Linked DNA regions of Homo sapiens: region 1 is linked to region 2. The links are contacts of gene promoters, found by promoter capture Hi-C in blood cells and fetal thymus (Javierre and others, 2016). All regions are on one chromosome and are shown on one strand. Each heading gives the region's core, a stretch centred on a gene start or on the middle of the fragment in contact. The rest is flanking DNA. Distances are from core to core; before and after follow the strand shown.

What was found. Contacts are between HindIII fragments. The CHiCAGO score rates a contact against its expected background, and 5 or more counts as called.
Region 1: a fragment that was not itself captured here is called in contact with the fragment with the promoter of MTHFD1L in region 2 in 1 of 17 cell types (megakaryocytes); the score reaches 5.1 in megakaryocytes.

What each region holds. Positions count from the first base shown.
Region 1 is chr6:151,384,639-151,388,327 of GRCh38, reverse strand. All of the region lies in intron 1 of ZBTB2 (zinc finger and BTB domain containing 2), which reads left to right. LOC124901232 (translation initiation factor IF-2-like) reads right to left here and starts at 8. Exons shown (of 3, transcript XM_047419613.1): 1 at 1-8. The coding sequence starts at 8. RefSeq lists an enhancer at 2,707-2,866. The HindIII fragment of the contact is 3,678 bases long and covers 1-3,129 here.
Region 2 is chr6:150,863,151-150,867,011 of GRCh38, reverse strand. MTHFD1L (methylenetetrahydrofolate dehydrogenase (NADP+ dependent) 1 like) reads right to left here and starts at 1,310. Exons shown (of 28, transcript NM_015440.5): 1 at 963-1,310. The coding sequence starts at 1,189. RefSeq lists silencers at 139-288, 409-608, 769-1,178, 1,239-1,468. The HindIII fragment of the contact is 12,675 bases long and covers 1-3,861 here.

The DNA of each region.
Region 1 (3,689 bases), core at 41-2,540, 520 kb before region 2:
TGCTTCATTCCTAGCCCCACTCACCTTTCCCTGTAGGAACTTGGAAAAGCTGGGCAAGTCCCGTGGCACCAGCCTGCACAGGAGAGGAAGATTGAAAGAACTGGTTTGCTGGTAATTTTTTTACCATAAAATACCAAATGCACCTGGGAAAGGTCATTTATCATCACTTTTCCTATTTTCTTATGCTCTTTGGCTCTCCAAACATGACTGAAAACCTAAAAGGGAACTGAACATTTTTATTTCCCTGAAGAAAAAAAAAAAATGTAAACATTCTAAGCATTAGACTAAGAATATTTCTAAAACGTTCTTTATGCTCAAGTAGGTTATAATTTGTGCTAGCAAATTAAACTATTAAATAATTAAAATATTACTTCGAATTGATAGTAAATAAGATTCAGTATTTTTACAATGCCGATAGAGCCATTAAGATATGGAATCAGTAGCCACAGAACCCTTACAAGGAGTTGGCAGCCCAACATATGTAGATCCATTTTAGAAGCCAACTTGGAGGCTCATATTTATGCTCAAACTCATAACCCCCAGTTCACATGCTTGAGGTATGCATCACATGCCTTTGAGTGTCACTTTAAGAAAGTTCAGTATTCAAAGATAGGAATTTGAAAAATACTTTTATGTATCTGGCTAAGTACTTAGGGAAACTACTTTTTTACTTTTGTTAGAGATTTTAGTGTACTGTTCTCTTAAACAGGGGGCACTCGCTAAGTTCTGCACCAAGCAGGGTAAGCGTCAGAATCCTCTGGAATGAAGTGCGCATGTTCTCCTGCACCGGGAGAGTCATTTAGGTTCTCTGAGTCCCCAAAGTGATTCTGAACGGCGCTTGTCTAAGTGTGGTCTGCAGATCCTTTTGAAGCCCCAGGATCCTTTCAGGATTCAATGAAGTCAAAACTGTTGTCACAGTAATACTAAGTTGTTATGGCCTTTTCCGCTGTGTTGACAAAATGTCTTCTCAGTGTTGACACTGAGAAGATCTGCTTAATTCAGTGAGCCGATATTTTCCAAATGACCAACAGATGATGTTAAAAATCATGAGTGGGTAAATGATCCGTTGAAAGTGGATAGACCAATGAATATTACTATAATAGAGTAGGAAAAGTTAATTCAGTTATGTAGTTTTATATTACACAACCAACTTTTAAGAAAGTAGACTTGTCAAGTGTTGGTATAATATAAAAGAGGACTGTCCACAATTACCTGAAAAGGCTATTCAAATATATCTCCTTTTTCCAACTACATAGGTGGGTGAGGCTGGATTTTCTTCACTACTCAACCAAAACAGAGTTAATTGAGGAGTAAATGCAAAATCCAGTTGTCTTCTGTTAAAGAGAATTGCAAAAATATAAAAAGACACCACTTTGTTATTTTAGAAAATACAATTATTTTTTCATAAAAATGTTCTGTACTTTAACATGTAATGGCCTTATTGTTTTTAATTGAATTAAATATTTCTAAAATTTCTCCATTTTGGTAATTATCAGTAGTTAAAATCCATATAAACATATAATTGATGTTCTTAATAATTTTTAAGACCATTAAGGGATCCCAACACCAAAAAGTTTCAGAAGCTCTGCTCTAAAATATTGAAACATATTATTAAGACTTTGAGTTAAACACATTTGAAACTCACCTGTGTTATATACCCTGAACTACACATTTAGGTGATTATATTTTCTTCAGATTAATTTTACTAATCATTTTATGGTATATAAAAAACAAAGGCAATCTCCACTCTGGTGGATTATTAGAAGCAGATCAGTTTTTTGTTGTTGTTGTTTTGAGACAGGGTCTCACTCTTTCATGCAGGCTAGAGTGCAGTGGCATGACCATGGCTCACAGCAGCCTCAGCCTCCCTGGCTCAAGCAATCCTCCCACCTCAGCCTTCTGGTAGCTGGGACCATGGGCACATGCCACCACATTCAGCTAATTTTCTTTTTATAGAGACAGGGTCTCGTCATGTTGCGCAGGCTGGTCTCCGGGGCTCAAGTGATCTGCCCGCCTTGGCCTCCCAAAGTGCTGAGATTACAGGGGTGAGCCACTGTCCCAAGCCCAGATTAATTTTTTAATTTTGCCGTGTGTAATCATCTGTAAGTTTCCTTCAGGTTGATTGTAGCATAATGCCTTTAGAATTATTACTTTAATATGAACTCGTTATTAGCCATAAATCTCTGATCTACTTCTGTTTGACACCTAAGATGTCCCTGAATTGCCTCCTTATGACCCCAACTTACATTTGGAAACTAAAAACTAATTTAAGTGTAAACATAGGGAAAATATAATTGAAAACAGGAGTATTTTACAAATGCAGTGCTTTTTAATATGAAAATAAGTGCTGTTTATGCCTCTCTCTTTTCTAATTACTATGGAAGAAGGTTGACTAAGGAAATGTTAAGAAAAAAATGCCACTCCATTATCACAACTAAATAAGATGCATTTTCTACCTTCAAAATACAGTTTTAAAATGTATTAAAATTCAAATGACCAGCCTTCAGGTTTACTTCATGGGCCCTCCAATATTAATTATTAATAATAGTAATTGAAAAATCAGCTTTTCATCCTAGTAAGTGGTCTAAACTACTTGAAAGAATCAATCTTACTTGTGGGTAATGCCTCTGCTGTTACTGATTGTCCTTTGAATTACAATATTCATTTATGCTTCACTTAAATAAAATCAAGGACTTCAGAGGACCCTTTTAGTGCCCTTGAAATGGGTAGTGTAAGTGGTGTTTAGTGTCTTAGAACAGCTATTATCTTTAAAAACTGAATCAACAATTTCCACAAGCTGTTTTGATCTCCTATTCTTACACTGAAAATGAAGGAGGAACTTAGGTTGTCAAAATACAACATAATTGTATGTGCCCCATTCTTCTGCACTTCTAAAAGGATGAGTGAGTTGCTTACGGATCAGCCCACATGTGCTCTGTGATGAAAACTGAAAGCAAGTGACAGCTAGGTGGTCAATGTCCTGTTATCAAGGAGGAAACAGTGGCAATGAAAACCAAAGCATTAAATAATCTGAAAGGTCATTTGTATTTGGCTCTAGGAAGTGTTTTTTATTTTTTCAACATGAGTATGTCTTATAGTCTCTGAATTTACTTAAGAAAAGTAAAAGCTTTGTACACATACATATACAGAAAGAAGGCATTCCATGAAAACCCATTTATAGGCACTGCCTCCTCTCTCCTGTGCTACTTTTCTTCAGTTCCTCTCAGCTCACTATTCTAATTTAGAAAAGACAAATGACTTGTTTTTTATTTAGTTGGGTTTTTTTTAAGTTCATATACAGTGTTAAATGGTTAGGGATTTTACATAGGTCTTCAGTTTCATGTCTTGATTGTCGGCCCTTTGTGACTGCGATCAGTAAGAACTTTTAGGAATGCTCTGTAGGGCAAGGTAGTAGAGTGGAGACAACATGAACTGTATGCCCAGAAGACCAGAGTTCAATCCTGACTCTTATTTGTTGATAATTTTAACCTCTCTCAACTACAGTGTAGTGATTTAAGGACATGGTTTTTCTGAAGACGCAGACAATTCACAGTCAGGACTTCCAAGCTCCAGACCAGTGTAACCAACATATACTCTGCATCTCCACTTGGTTATCTCAAAAGTATCTCAAACCCAACATGTGTGAACCTAACCTCTTGCTCTTCCCGCCAAATTATTATTTGCCCTGT
Region 2 (3,861 bases), core at 61-2,560:
GGAAAGGGAAGAGGATGTGAATGGAGGAGGTGGTCCGCTGGCCGGGGAAACCGCATCCTGGAACTCGTTCCTAATCCCAGTTCCGAGGGAGGCGGAAGGGGCTTTCTTGCCACCCCCAAGTTGTCCCGAAGGGCTCGCCCTGCAAGGCCCGAGACCCGTGCGCCCCTCTGGGCGAGGGCGGGGAAGGCTGGAGCCCAGGGGCGGGGACCGGGACGGGAAAGGCCGGGCCCGGGGCTCCCAGTTCGCTCTGGGCCCGCAGAAAACCCTGCAAACCCAGCTGCGCGGGGACTCCGTGGGCGCTGCGCGGCGAAGCTGGAAACCAGCGCTGAGACCTCTCGGATTCCCCCCGGCGGCTGTCCCGGGGGCCCGGCTCCACCTTTGCCGTTCCGGGAAAAGCGGACGTCAGCCACAGACCCCAGCCCAGCAGGAGGGGCCGCGCGCGGGGAAGGGCGCACAACACCAGGGAGCTTCGCGCGGGCGGCGCTGGGCCCGAGCCCGCCTCTCCCGAGCTCCGCTTGCCCTTCCCGAACCCCGGGCCAGCCGGCGCGCCGAGCCGCAGCCCCGCCCTCCTCCTGCTCCTCGCCCCCTCCCCTGGTTTCCGCCCCAGCCGCACCGCCCCTTTACCGTCTGGGTCGCGCCCGGCGCGATTGCATCAGAGCCGGCGGCCGGCTGCGCACGTGGAGCCGGGCGTGCGGTCCATGCCGCTAGGCGCCCATTGGAGATGCCCACGCCCACCTGCGCTGCGGGCCCGGTCGGGTACTGGATCCCCCGTTCTCCGCCAGCGCTCCCGGCCGCAGTGCCCAAGCCCGCGTTTCCCGACACACCGCCCGGCCCCCCTAATGAGTTGGCACCAAACACTCGCAGCCCCGCGCCCCGCTCCCCACGGCGGTCCCGGGCGCTCCGCCCCTGGGTCGGGGCCACAGCCGCTGGAGACCTGGGCCAGGGCCAGACCCGACACTCACCTGACGATGGAGTCCCGCGCCGCGGGCGTTCGGCCGCCGGGGCTGCAGCTGCTCCGGGCCTGGCCATCCTGCGGCCGCCGCTGTCCAAGCAGGCCCTCCCGGCCACCGCCGCCGCCTCCGCCGCCGCCGCTGCTAGCGCGACAGGGCACACGGAGGCGGCGCGGAGGGCCCGGGGGCTGGGGCGGGCGGCGGAGCTGGCGCAGGACGAGCGGCAGACGCGTGCCCATGGCGCGGGACGGCTGGTTCTCAGGGGACACGGAGCTGCGGCTGCCGAGGGCGGCGGGGCGCGTGCCAGGGGAGCAGGCGGCGGCGGCGGCGGCGGCGGCGGGAAGGACCTGGCGCTTCCTCCTCGTCCCAGGGGCCCCTAGGGGGCACTGCACCCGGCGGCCGTGACGTGCGGAGGGCGGGGGCCTGCGAGCCGCCGGCCGGGATGTCACGGCTTTGGGCACTTTGGTTTGGTAAGCTGTACCAGACAGAGGGTGGGGTGCGGAGTGGGACTCAGACTCTGCCCTGAGACTCAGCCTCCCTCCCTTCAGCCTGAAAGGCCGAGGTGACCCTTGGTACTCAGGGCGCCAAGTTTAGACGGGAGGGCTTGGATTTGCTGTACTGGAGGTGGCCTGAGGATAAGAGGCTTTGTAACCTTAGGCAGGGGCACTTAATCTCGGTGAGCTTGCGGGGTCTTCGTCAGTACCACAGAGATAACAATGCTCTTCTTAAAACCTTAAAAGGATTTTATAGTCCTGATTGGTTCCAGGGCCCCTCCAGGGGACCCACGTCCACAAATGCTCAAGTCCTTGGTAAAAAAAAAAAAAAAAAAAAGTGTTTGCATATCACCTACACACATCTTCCCATCATAAACTTTAGGTCATCTCCACATTCCCTAAGTCCTCACCTAACATCGTGGAGGGGTTCTTGGAAACTGAAACTTTAAGCCAAATGACTGTAAGGAAAACAGTTTGACCACAGGCTAATTGATATGAGTGAAGTTCCTACAACATATCTGTGGTCACAAAATCGCCCCTAAACTTCGAAATAAAGACCAAAACACTTCTAATATTAAACATTGAAATAAGTGTGAGCCATGCATATATTTAAGGAAGATTTTTAGCTCACGCCTATAATCCCAACACTTTGGGAGGCTGAGGTGGGCAGATCACGTGAGGCCAGAAGTTCAAGACCAGCTTGGCCAACATGGCGAAACCCCATCTCTACTAAAAATACAGAAAATTGGCTGGGTGTGGTGGCGCGTGCCTGTATTCTCAGCTACTCGGGAGGCTGAGGCAGGAGAATCGCTTGAACCCAGGAGCCAGAGGTTGCAGTGAGCCGAGATCATGTCACTGTACTCTAGCCTGGGCGACAGAGCACAGCTCTGTCTCAAAGAAAAAGTTTTTTTTAAACACCCCCTATCCCTCTCGCTTAGAGAAAAATAAAGATTAATAAAAGTGAGATCATTTTTACCGGCTTATTCCAACTCAGGGCACCTCACAGGGTGTGCTCACACACACCCACACTCACACTCGGATCGTGTAGATGCACCAATTTACCTAAAGTGCACTGCACGGCTTTGGGATGTGACAGGACACCAGAAGACAGAGAAAATCCACACAGACATGGATAAAACGTGACAGTGGACCCAGCCAGAAATCTATTTTTTTCTCATCATTATAAGAAAACCACTGAGCAAAATGATGAAATGATGTTATTCCAGGACCTGCTGTACTTATAATACCTAATACAATGTAAATGCTATGTAAATAGATATTACACTGTACTTTTTTATTTCTATGATTTTTTATTATTTTTTGTTATTGTAATTTTTTCAAATACTTTCAGTCCCAGGTTGATTGAGGATACAGAGGGCTGACCATAAGTTCCAAGTAAAGTGGATATCAGATTGTAATTTTATGATTCCCAAGTGAGGGTCAGATTGTTAACTTTATATTTTTACAACCTTATACCCTTATAATTCCCAGATAAGGTGGGAATAAAACTAGTCCAAGTTACAGAGATTGGTTTTCCATTAGCCGAGCACCATACTGGGACAGTGCTGGAAGGACCCTTCATACAATCCTAACAAAAGTAGGGAATTGAGAGCTATTGTCTTGACCTTCAACCTTTGGAAACTGGGGTCCAGAGAGGCCCATCTGTTTACTGGCAGAGCTGGGAGATTGAGGCTGCAATGAGCTGTGAGCGTGTCACTGCACTCCAACCTGGGCAACAGAGTGAGACCCTGTCTCAAAAAAAAAAAAAAAAAAAAAAAAAGGCTTCCTGAAGAAAGTGAAAGAGGTGGCAGCTGGAGGCAAGACCTTAGCAGTTGAGCTAAGGGAAGGTCAGCTAAGGGAAGGAAATGAGCTAAGGGAAGGTCAGTGTTGGAAAAGTGGGAATGTTGGAAATGAAGGAACAACATGAGCAAAAGTCTGGAGTAGAAGAGAGCATGATGAATTTGAGATACTGAGAGCTGTTCAGTCGAGTGGGGAGGGCAGGGGAAAATGAGTAGCAATGGCAAGTAAGAAGAGCTGGGCAGGGCCACGTTGTGGCAGGTCACGAAACCATTGCATTGCATTTTTTTTTTTTTTTTGAGATGGAATCTAGCTTTATTGCCCAGGCTGGAGTGCAGTGGCGCAATCTTGTCTCACTGCAGCCTCCACTCCCAGGTTCAAGCAATTCTCCTGCCTCAGCCTCCCAAGTAGCAGGGATTACAGCCAACCACCATGCCTGGCTAATTTTGTGTTTTTGGCAGAGACAGGGTTTCGCCATCTTGGCCAAGCTGCTCTCAAATTCCTGACCTCAGGTGATTTGCCCTCCTCGGCCTCCTCCCAAAGTGTTGGGATTACAGGAGTGAGCCTCTGCGCCCAGCCCATTGCATTGCATTTTGAAAGCAGTGGAAAACAACTGAAGG